Linked DNA regions of Homo sapiens: all the other regions are linked to region 1. Evidence: promoter capture Hi-C in 16 types of primary human blood cells and fetal thymus (Javierre and others, 2016). All regions are on one chromosome and are shown on one strand. The core of a region is centred on a gene start or on the middle of the fragment in contact, and the rest is flanking DNA. Distances in the headings are between cores, read along the strand shown.

Region 1 (2,990 bases), core at 282-2,781:
CCAGCCTGGGCGACAAGAGTGAGACTCTGTCTCAAAAACATATATATATATAATCTACCTTTCCTCCTTGCCACAGATGCAGCTAGAGCCTAAACGGAGAAGGTGCCAGTTAACTAGCCTTTGGTGATTTTAGCATTGAGACTCCGGTGCTAGCAGTGATTCCAGTCCACCTGATTCAGGCCACAGGAATTCTCCCAGAATCTTCACTACAAGTTGAAACTCCAAATCCTTAATCCTAGAGAGTAAATGCACTTAGGGTCAATGCACACCTAAGTATACCTTAGGTGCGCGACAGGTCTATTTCCTGTCAGAATCCCTAGATGAAAAGAGGAAGTAGATGGACACCCTTATCGGTCAAGCGCTGATGGAACACTCATCTACAAATGAGATACACATGCTGAGACCCTAAGCTGACCCAAGCTGATGGTGCTATCGAGACAAACCACTTTATCACATATTCATCAGCAGTCTCGGAGTTTTTCTTCCCATTCCCTCCCGTAGCGGCTCACCTTTGAGGCAGGAAAGAAGCAGTTCAGGCGGAAGCCACAATCTTTACAAAGCAGGCTTCAGAGAAGCTCACCATTCATCAGCCAGTGAGGGCTGTCACCTGCTAGTTGAGAACTAAACTCAGACATCAGATTCTTCCACAAAGGCCTCCTCACCAGCTGTCCGATGGGTACGGCGTTCAAACGACTCAAAACAGCACAACAAGCCTGGTTTTATTTCTGATGGTCCCCATCAAGGGAACTGAAACTACATGCCTCTAGATTACCTTGCGATCACTCCTCATTTTATTAAAAACATGAAGAAAGAATCCACCCCATTCCGGATATTTACCAAGCTTGACACAGGGAACACCACTATGCCATTTAACTTTGTGGACGTACGTGAGTCTCTCCCTCCCACCTTTCTGAGATGTGTTTCACTGCCAAACGGAGAAGAAACGCAAACACTCCCCAAAGCCGAAAAATGGCAAACGACCAAGATGTTTCCCGTGCCAAATCCGAATTATCCAGGCCTCGGCTCCAGACGTGGGAAGTCCCGCCATCTCCAAGGCCGGCAGGGAACCCTGGCTCGGGGGACGCGAGTGGGCAAACCCCAGTGTGGGGGGACCAGGCCGAGGTCGGCCGATGCTGGGCGACCCCCGCCAGCAGTTGGGGCGGGGTCTGCACCCTGAGAAGCGGTGAAAAAAGCCGGCGGAGGAGCCGCTCCCGACCAGCACGCTCCCCGCTCCCGGCCCCGCGGGCAGCCCCGACTGGGCCCGACCCCAGCCCGCCCTCCAGCCCCGGCTCACCCCGCCCCGGCGGGCAGCTGCGCGCCCCGGGCCCAGCCGGGCCAGCTGCTCGGCGGACGCCCGCGGTCGCGCTGGGCTCACTCGTGGCGGCGCGTGGCGGGCCCGAGGCCGCTAGGCACCATCTTCTCCCCGCGCCGGGGGCAGCGTCTGGCTCCGCGGGGCCGACGCGAAGACCAGACGCCAACCGGGCTCCCGCCGCCGCCTCAGTTCGGGCTCCGGCAACCGCGGTTTCCGGGTGAAAAAAAAAAAAAAAACCACGCCACCTCCAACGCCGCCGTGACCTCCGACCCCGGGCGTCCGACGGTGGCGCGGCCGGGACAAGCTTCGTCAGAGGCAGGCGGCGGAGACCACGCTTCCGGGACGGGTAGCGTGCATGCGGACGTGCGTGGAGTGCGTGATGGACGTTTATGGGTCTGTGTGCCGGTCTGGTGTTGTGCGTGTGCGTGTGTGCGTAGTGCGTGTATGTGGCTTGTAGTGTGCATCGTGTACAACGGTGTGTGCAGTGAGTGCATGTATGTGCATCTGTGTGCGCGTGTGTGGTGTGTGATGGTATGGGTGTGTGCATGCGTAGATGTGTAGGGAGTGCGCACACGTGTGCATGCTCATGTGTGTGCTATGCGTGTGTCTGTTGATGTGCTTGTATATTAATCACTGCTGATAAACATGTAATTTTGGACCAGGCGCGGTGGCTCAGGCCTGTAATCTCAGCACTTTGGGAGGCCAAGGCAGGAGGATCGCTTGAGTCCTGGAGTTCCAGACCAGCCTGGGTAACATAGGGAGTCTCTGACTCTATTTATAAATAAAATAAAATGAAAATGAAAATTTTTAAAGTATAATTTTGTACAATCACTTTGCAAAGTAATTTGGCATTATGCAGTACACTTAAAGATATACACATCCTCTCTTGAGAATATATTACCCTGGAGAAACAGTTGCACCTATGCACAAGTAGACAAAATAATGCTCATAGCAACACCAATGTTTTTAGCAGCAGTATGACTCACTAAAAATTGGGGAGAAAAAGCAGATGTCCATACAGTCAAATGTAAAAACCAACTTTGATATATTCATGGTTTGGTTTGTTTTTGTAGAGACAGGGTCTCCCTATGTTACTCAAGCTGGTCTCGAACTACTGGACCCAAGTGATCCTCCCACCTCGGGAGGATCTGGGATTACAGGTGTGAGCTGCCACGCCTGGCCCATCTTCGTGTTTAATCGGGTACAAAAGACCAGTGAAAATTATTTAATACAGCTCACACAATTATGGTAGTCAATTGCAGACTATATTGGCAGGGACCAAATCACAAAATGGTACACTGCTACATATTTCCATTATGTAAAATTCAAAACAGGCAAGTTCATAACATATTGTTTAGAGATGCATACATAATTGTTTGAACTGACATGAAGCATGAGAAAAAGATGTATAAACTTCATGTTAAGTGTTAGGGGAATGGGATGGGGGAGGAGTACAGGGTGCTTTAAAGGTAATAAAGTTTTGTTGTTCTTGCTTTTGAGACAAGGTCTTGCTCTGTCACCCAAGCTGGAGTGCAGTCGCATGATCATGGCTCACTGCAGACTCGGCCTCCCAAGCTGAAGTGATCCTCCTGTCTCAGCCTCCTGAGTAGCTGGGACCACAGATGTGCACCATCGTGCCCAGCTAATTTTCATATTTTTCACAGAAATGGGGTTTCCC
Region 2 (3,132 bases), core at 122-2,621, 330 kb after region 1:
AACAAACAAAAAAATCAAATGGGCCGTTGTCATGGATGTCCAGCATGGAGACCCACTATCTGCCAAGTGCCCACACACTGTTGGATTTAGTGAACAACTTAGATGTCAGTGGGTGACCAAAATGAGGAAAGGCATGGCTGGAATATGGCAGCCACTGTTGGCTGGAAATGGCCAAGGAGTAATTGTGAACTTTATAGTGAACTTGAGTCCAAGCTGCTATTTAACTGTTCAATAAATGAACAAGCATCATTAGCTGAAACAGAATGTAAAGAAAAATAAGAGGGAGAAATCAGACTTTGATTTCAGGACTATTTCTAATTTAGGCTCCAAAGCTTAAGAGAAGTACAGAGGACTTGATTTTTAGAAAAACTTAAAAATTATTAAATAGATAAGATCATATTCAGAGCTAAATTTAACCAGAATCTAACATTGTTTCCCAGATGAAGAGTTTCACAAAGCCGACTAACTAGTCCAGCTGACTCCCTAGGCTGCTGGGTAGCAGAGTGGGGACATGTCTGTGTGCTGAGACTTGGTGTGTCCCTGTCTTGAAGCCCAGGGCCTGGCTCTGCACTGCCAGGTTACCCAGATGCAGTTATAGAAGAAAAGCCAAAACAACTTGCAGAAAATAAGTCTGCCGAAAAGATAAATAATAGTATTCCAATACATGAACAGACTTGTGACATCTCTTCTCTGGGGACAGAACAAGAGGATACAGGTTTATATCCCAGCAAGAGGAATTCTGCCGAGACCAGTTCGGTCAGGGAGACCCTAACCCAGCGGCGGTAGAGGAATTAAAGATACACACACAGAAATATAGAGGTGTGAAGGGGGAAATCAGGGGTCTCACAGCCTTCAGAACTGAGAACCCTGAACAGAGATTTACCCACGTATTTATTAACAGCAAGCCAGTCATTAGCATTGTTTCTATAAGATATTAAATTAACCAAAAGTATCCCTTATGGGAAACGAAGGGATGGGCCGAATTAAAGGAATAGGTTGGGCTAGTTAACTGCAGCAGGAGCATGTCCTTAAGGCACAGAGCGCTCATGCTATTGTTTGTGGCTTAAGAATGCCTATAAGCGTTTTTCTGGTTTTCCGCCCTGGGTGGGCCAGGTGTTCCTTGCCCTCATTCCGGTAAACCCACAATCTTCCAGCAAGGGCGTTATGGCCATCATGAACATGTCACAGTGCTGCAGAGATTTTGTTTATGGCCAGTTTTGGGGCCAGTTTATGGCCAGATTTTGGGGGGCCTGTTCCCATCAGATTCTACATTAAATACAAGGAAACTTGGCCGGGCACGGTGGCTCACGCCTGTAATCCCAGCACTTTGGGAGGCCGAGGTGGGCGGATCGCGAGGTCAGGAGATCGAGACCATCCTGGCTAACACGGTGAAACCCCGTCTCTACTAAAAATACAAAAAAATTAGCCGGGTGTGGTGGGCGCCTGTAGTTCCAGCTACTCGGGAGGCTGAGGCAGGAGAATGGCGAGAACCTGGGAGGCAGAGCTTGCAGTGAGCCGAGATCACACCACTGCGCTAGCCTGGGTGACAGAGCGAGACTCCGTCTCAGAAAAAAAAAAAAAAAAGGAAAGTTTCTAACTGGAGATATGAGATGAGCTACACAAGAAGAAGCCAAAACATCTGCCCTGGTGCTGCACTGTTGCTCAGTCGTATCATTTTCTGAGTCCTGAGAGTTTTCATATTTGGATAAGTGATCAGTCTGAAAGTCACTTAAGTCCTGCCTAAACTCCAGGACAGCTGGCATCTTCCTTCTCCTCTTTCTTCTCACGTGGCTTCACCCTCACAGTCCCTCATGCTCTCAACTTGGAGCCATCATCTTATCACGATCTCCCTAGCCTCCCTAACCCTCACTCCTGCCTGGTTATTCTATATCACCATGTTATTTATTTTTTAAGTAATTATGATTACGTTATAGGCTTAATTGTGATCCCCACCAGATTCATATGTTGTAGTCCTAATCCCAGTACATCAGAATGCAACTGTATTTAGAAACAAGGTCTCTAAAGAGGTGAGTTAAGATGATGCCATTAGGGTGGGCCCTAATCCAATTCAACTGGTGACTTTATAAAAAGAGGAAATTTGGACACACACAGAGACACTAAAAATGCATGTTCACAGAGAAAAGGCCATGTAAGGACACAGTGAAGAGGTCACTTTCACTGGTGTCCGTGTGAAGAGACCACCAAACAGGCTTTGTGTTAGCAACAAGGCTGTTTATTTCACCTGGGTGCAGGCAGGCTGAGTCCTGGAAGGGACTCAGAGTCAGGGAAGGCAGATAGGGGTGGGGCTGTTTTATAGGATTTGGGTAGGTAAAGGAAAATTTCAGTCAAAGGGGGTTGTTCTCTGGCAGGTAGGGGCGGGGGACACAAGGTGCTCAGTGGGGAAGCTTTTGAGCCAGGATGAGCCAGGAAAAGGAATTTCACAAGGTAATGTCATCAGTTAAGGCAGTAACAGGCCATTTTCACTTCTTTTGTGATTCTTCAGTTACTTCAGGCCATCTGGATGTATACATGCAGGTCACAAGGGATATGATGGCTTAGCTTGGGCTCGGAGGCCTGACAGTGACTATCTATAAGCCAAGAAGAGAGGCCTCAGGAGAAACCAAACCTGCCAGTTCTGTGATCTTATCTTGGATTTCTTTTTTTTTTTTTTTTTCGTTTTTTTAGAGGGAATCTCTCTCTTTTACCCACGCTGGAGTGCAGTGGCACGATCTCGGCTCACCGCAACCTCTGCCTCCCAGGTTCAACAGATCCTCCTGCCTCAGCCTTTCTAGTAGGTGGGGTTACAGGCACGCGCCACCTTTGGATCCACACCTCCTCCCGTCCTGAGCCAAAGGCCACGGAAGTGACGTTTGCACGCCGTGCGTAACGTGCATTCTGGCGGTGCCGGGAGCGGGGCGAGGAGGAGGGTGGGTATGAGGCGGTAGCGGACCGCGGAGTCGAGACCTACCCGAACGACGCGGGCGAGCGGGGCTTTGGACGCCGGTGGAGACGCAGGCGAGGTACGGAGCGGAAGGACTAGGGCCAAGAGCAGCGCGGCTCTCAGCTCCGGGAGCGGGGCGGCGAGGTGTCTCGGGCCGGGGTTGGGGGGAGCGGTTGGTCTGTGCCGTCCGC
Region 3 (2,707 bases), core at 208-2,707, 270 kb after region 1:
GTTTCCAAGCAAAATATTTATTTATTTTACTTTTTATTTTAGAGACAGGGTCTTGTTCTGTCACTGAGGCTGGACTGCAGTAGTGCAATCACGGCTCATTGCAACCTCAACCTCATGGGCTCAAGTGAACCTCCCACCTCAGGCTCCCAAGTATCTGGGACTGCAGGTGCACACCACCCTGCCTGGCTTATGTTTTTGAATTTTGTTTTTTTGGACATAGGATCTTGCTATGTCACCCAGGCTGGTCCTGGACTCCTGGCCTCAGGCAATCCTCTTGCCTCTGCCTCTCAAAGTGCTATAGGATTACAGGTGTGAACCACCATGCCTGGCCAGGCAAAATAGATTCTTCCTTTCTGGTGCAGAAGATGAAACTAGTGTGATGAAACTAGTGTGTCTGCTCAGTGTGATCCTGCAGGCATCCTCTGCAGCTGTTGTGGAGGTAGATACAGAGTTTCCAGGATGTGTATCCACCTTACCTTAACTTAGGTGGATACAGAGCCTGCAGGATCCTATGCTGCTGCTATGAAGACTGAAAATGCTCTCCAGTTCCTAGCAGGCCAGATGTAAAAGCTGACTTGGAAAGCAAGAGACATCAGTGCTGAGAGCACCTACCTGCCTGAGAACAAGAAGCAGACAGTCCTGGGTATGGCATCACTGTCATGGTTGGCTAACAGGTACCAGATAAGGCATGGCCAGAAGTGGCCAACTAGCTTTTAAATATCAAAGACAGGACAGTTACAAACAGAGGGGAGAGGTGGAGGAGGACATGGTGAGAGGGACAGTAAACACCTGCAACGTGTGCACACACGGGTGGGCCCTTGGGGCAGTCAGCTGAGGTACAGTTGGTGATGAAGATGCTATGTTGAGAAACTGGATACCCAAGGCATTTATAAAAGTTCACAAAGACTGTAGGGACTTAAGCCTACTCATGATACCACCCTGACCTCTTTACAAAAATACTGGAGATACAAAGATTTCTTCAACTGGACTCTGAACCTGTAAGTTTCTTTTAATGAGGGTCAAGCTCCAAGTTTTGTGTTGCTATGTGATTCTATTTCTTGATTTTAATAATGACTGAGAAAAGTATGGATACCTCCATTCCAAAAATCTACTGGGGCTGGGCCATCTGCCAGGATCATATGATACGGGGAAGAAATGAGGGTCTGTATTACATTAAGAGAATCCTGGCCAAGTGCGATGGGTCACGCCTGTAATCCCAGCACTTTGGGAGGCTGAGGTGGGTGGATCACAAGGTCAGGAGTTCAAGACTAGCCTGGCCAAGATGGTGAAACTCCATCTCTACTAAAAATACAAAAATTATCCGGGTGTGGTAGCGAGCACCTGTAATCCCAGCTACTTGGGAGGCTGAGGCAGGGAATTGCTTGAACCCGGGATGCGGGGGTTGCAGTCAGCTGAGACTGCACCACTGCATTCTAGCCTGGGCAGCAGAATGAGACTCCGTCTCAAAAAAAAAAAAAAAAAAAAAAAAAGAGAATCCTCAGAAGTCATGGTTTGTTGAGGTGTGAATAAGGTTGACATAGAGGCCAGAGGTGGCTAGAAAAGGTACATCATAATCTGATGACAGGCCCCTGTTACGGAGTATTTCTGGATGGTTCATGGTTCAGTCTTTCCCACAGTTGACTGGATCTTCTCCTGGTGTACAACAGCTCTGTGTCCACCTGGTGTCAAGTGGTTGGAGAAGGGGGATACCTAGGATTTCCAGATCATGTCATTCCTCAGGAAAAACAAGTGTGTGAGAGAAGAAGTCCTTTGCAGTCCAGGAATTGAACTGCCCTCTTCCTAAGGCTGCTCTGTTTATTATTTCATGTGTGTGTGTGTGTGTGGTGTGGTGGAGGGTCAGGGGTACACTTTGGAAGAAGACATAAAATTCTGTCCTTTGAATATACCTAGATAATGAACATCTATGAATTTTATAGTAATACTGTCACTCTTACTTTGCATTTAGATTTTAGAAGCAGGTATTCATCTGAGAAAAAATGAGGTACCTAAGTTCACAGCTAATAAGATCACTGTAGACATGACTGGGGAAGGGAAAAGAAAAGCACCTAACTATTCTTTCTCAAAACAAAAACTACTAGGCTCGGTGTGGTGGTGGCTCATGCCTGTACTCCCAGCACTTTGGGAGGCCAAGGCGGGTACATCACCTGAGGTCAGGAGTTTGAGACCAGTCTGGCCAATATGGTGAAACCCCATCTCTACTAAAAATACAAAAATTAGCCAGGCTTGGTGGCGCGTCTGTAATCCCAGCTACTTGGGAGGCTGACGAAGGAGGATTGCTTGAACCCAGCTGGTGGAGGATGTAGTGAGCTGAGATTGCACCACTACACTGCAGCCTGGGCAACAGAGCAAGACTGTCTCAAAAAAAAAAAAAAGAAAGAAAGAAAGAAAGTTTAAAATTATGTTTAAAAAACAGAGAAATTAAGCTAAAGTACATGATAGGAAAAACAATGTGGTAAGGAATTAAAAGAAAGCTAAAGGTAAGTAAATAAAAGCTAAGGGAACAGGCTATAAGTTCAACAAACCAAAATTAAGTAGTGAAGAGGTCATCTACACAAGAATGAAGACGGGACACTTGGCAGTATAGAGATCTAAGTCCAAGGGCCATGAGTCCCAAGCCAGGCACATGGCATCCCCTGAACTACACTAAGGAGTCTCCCATTCTGTTATGCTTTTGATGTTGGAAGTA
Region 4 (2,964 bases), core at 8-2,507, 340 kb after region 1:
TTGTCTATTGCAGTCCTTTTCCCATTTGTAAACCGGATTATCTTGTTTTTTTTGTTACTGAGTGGTAAGAGTTCCTTTATGTTCTGGATATTAACTCCTTATTAGATATGTGGTTTGCAGATATGTTCTACAATTCTGTATATTGTTCCTTCTTACTCTGTCATTTGCTTCCTATGTTGTGCAGAGATATTAAAATTTGATGTAATGTATTTGTCTGATTTTGCCTTTGTTGCCTGTGCTTTTGGTGTCATATCCTAGAAGTCATTGCAAAATCCAGTGTTGGGAAGCTTTTCCCCTAAGTTTTCCTCTAGGAGTTTTCTAGTTTCAAGCCTATACATTTAGGTCTTTAATCCAATGTTAGCCCTTTCTTAATGAGTTCTTTGTATTTTGGGCAGGGAATAAGTCTTTCTTTAATGTAACTGTCAGGAATTTACTATATTTAACTTTTTCCTTCTTCCTTCCTCCCCTCTTTCCCTCCCTCCTTCCCTTCCTCATTCATTCCCTCCTTCCCTCTCTTACGGCTTGAAGATAATGGAATCACTCAGGTTTTGTTCGTAACTGGTAAGGTTTTAGTTTAGTAGGATGATAATTCATTTTCAACAGCACTTTCTTGTTTGTTCATTGGTTAGCAGGAAGAAGATGAGCCTTAGGTCTGAACGCCGAGGAATTCATGTGGATCCTGTGCAAGAAAGGATGTGGTTACTGTGGCAACCCTACCTGGCAGGGTTTCTGCTCCAAGTGCTGGAGGGAAGAGTAGCACAAAGCCAGGCAGAAGCAGATTCAGGAGTACTGGGAGCTGGTGGAACGGTAAAAGGACTTAACTAGGGGCGGTTGATCAGTGATGTGACTGGATACATAGCTCTGTCACCGTGCAAATACATTTTTTCTCTTCTGCATTCAGCTATCAGCAAGTCAGTTTAATATTAAGGAAAAGGATGTTTTCCCCTCTTCTTCTCAGTCAACCTTTAATGAACAGCTTTCAGTAGTTTCTTCATTTTGTGTTTGTCTTAACTTCTGGTTATTTTCTTTGGATTGTGTTAGTCTTAGTTCTCAAATTTAGACAAATTCCTTGGAGTGGAAGAATGGAGACAGGCATATTTCCTGGTGAAGATTAAATGAGCTAATAAATATGATGTACCCAGCGCAGGGCTTGCAAATGGCAGTCATCAAGCATTATTTCTCTCGTTCTTTTACTATATTCAGCATGGCATGTAGCTCAGTGATAAAACAGTAGTAGAACTCTGGTGACTCGTATACATAGTCCTTGCATTATAGAAATTTATTCCTTAAAAATTAGGTTACTCAAAGGCAGTTTGTATTATCTGGATATACAGTGATGTTAAAAATTAAATGATGGGTCGGGCGCAGTGGCTCACGCCTGTAATCCTAGCACTTTGAGAGGCTGAGGCAGCTGGATTACCTGAGGTTAGGAGTTCGAGACCAGCCTGACCAACATGGTGAAACCCAATCTCTACTAAAAATATTTAAAAAGTTAGCCGGATGTGGTGGTACGTGCTTGTAATCCCAGTTACTTGGGCGGCTGAGGTAGGAGAATTCCTTGAATGCAGGTATCGGAGATTGCAGTGAGCTGAGATCGTGCCACTGCGGTCCAGCCTGGGCAACAAGGTGAGACTCTGGTCTCAAAAAAAAAAACAAAAAACAAAACAAAATTAAATGATGGGATGGCTAGTGAGCATAGGAACTAGTAAAATGCCATAAATAATGTTAATTCTTTGCCAGAGCATTCTAGAAATTCTAAAACTGCTTCAACAGAAGAAAGTCAAATGGAATTCTGCTAACTCTTGCTAGTTTTTTTTTTTTTTCATCCAGTCAGCCAATATTTGTTGAGTTGACTTCTTTGCTGGTATCTGTGGTAAACCCAGAGAATTAGAAATTACACATTGCTTTCAGTGACTGTGGTCAATCAAAGAGAGAAAATTTTAACCCAGAACGTGAATGATCTCCTCAGGCTTCCGACTGCATGCCTCATGCTGTCAGTAGCAGACCCTGTTTCGAAAACAGAGTAGAGGCCACTAGGCACAAACTCTCTCAGCTTCCTCCCCTGGCTACATAAAATGTACTAATACCTTTATATTAACTTCTTGTCTGTCCCAGAGAAAGAGGTGTCCCGATTCCATCCTCAGACTTAGCACCTCCACCTGTGATTTTTGTTTCTATTTCTTACTGCTTTTAATTGTGACCCTGCTAAATCTCTCGGAAAGCTTGTAAAAGCAGTGATTGTTGGACTTTACCCTCAGAATCTCTGATTTTAGTAGTTTGGGAGTAAGACTAGAGAATTTGCATTTCTAACAAGTTGCCTGGTGTTGCTGCTATTGCTGTCTGGGGAATCACACTTGGAGAACCACTGTCTTATAGATAGTGCTTGAGTTTTTTGTTTGTTTTTTGTTTTTTTGAGACAGGGTCTTGTTCTGTCATCCCTGCTGGAGTGCAGTGGTACATGGTACAGTCTGGACTCACTGCAACCTCTGCTTCCTGGGCTCAAGTGATCCCTCTGCTTCAGCCTCCCAAGTAGCTAGGACTACATGAGCATGCTACCACGCCCAGCTAATTTTTGTATTTTATGTAGAGACAGGGTTTCACCATGTTTCCCAGGCTGGTCTCAAATTCCTGAGCTCAAGTGATCCGGCTGCCTTGGCCTCCCAGTGTGCTGGGATTACAGGCGTGAGCTACTGTACCCCGCCTGTGTTTGGGAATTATTACAGATGGTTCACATGCAGCTAATCCAAACCCAAATTTATTGCTTTTATTTATTATTCTCCGCATTCTGAACATTTTCCTCCTAACCCTTCTCCTGAGTCAATTAATGGCATCACTATTTACCAAGTTAGCTAAAAAACCTTGGTTTCATTCTTGATTTCTCTTTCATCTCCTATGCTGCCTACAACTTGACCAAGTTCTGTTTCTTCCAACTCAGAAAAGTCTTGAATTTTACCTTTTGTACTC

What was found. Contacts are between HindIII fragments. The CHiCAGO score rates a contact against its expected background, and 5 or more counts as called.
Region 2: a fragment that was not itself captured here is called in contact with the fragment with the promoter of TMEM248 in region 1 in 9 of 17 cell types (fetal thymus, total CD8 T cells, naive CD4 T cells and 6 more); the score reaches 14.3 in fetal thymus.
Region 3: a contact is called between a fragment that was not itself captured here and the fragment with the promoter of TMEM248 in region 1, in 5 of 17 cell types (naive CD8 T cells, total CD8 T cells, activated CD4 T cells and 2 more). The highest score is 5.7, in naive CD8 T cells.
Region 4: a fragment that was not itself captured here is called in contact with the fragment with the promoter of TMEM248 in region 1 in 3 of 17 cell types (activated CD4 T cells, fetal thymus and total CD8 T cells); the score reaches 6.9 in activated CD4 T cells.

The regions. Positions count from the first base shown.
Region 1 is chr7:66,919,766-66,922,755 of GRCh38, reverse strand. TMEM248 (transmembrane protein 248) reads right to left here and starts at 1,531. Exons shown (of 7, transcript NM_017994.5): 1 at 1,295-1,531. RefSeq lists a silencer at 1,240-1,489. The HindIII fragment of the contact is 775 bases long and covers 844-1,618 here.
Region 2 is chr7:66,592,145-66,595,276 of GRCh38, reverse strand. It overlaps the pseudogene RABGEF1P1. Among named protein-coding and RNA genes, the nearest start is that of KCTD7, 35 kb to the left of the region's middle. RefSeq lists silencers at 2,271-2,442, 2,760-2,829, 3,090-3,132 and an enhancer at 2,701-2,995. The HindIII fragment of the contact is 2,073 bases long and covers 335-2,407 here.
Region 3 is chr7:66,644,988-66,647,694 of GRCh38, reverse strand. No RefSeq gene overlaps it. Among named protein-coding and RNA genes, the nearest start is that of KCTD7, 17 kb to the right of the region's middle. The HindIII fragment of the contact is 7,195 bases long and covers 1-2,707 here.
Region 4 is chr7:66,574,598-66,577,561 of GRCh38, reverse strand. It overlaps the pseudogene RABGEF1P1. Among named protein-coding and RNA genes, the nearest start is that of KCTD7, 53 kb to the left of the region's middle. The HindIII fragment of the contact is 1,935 bases long and covers 290-2,224 here.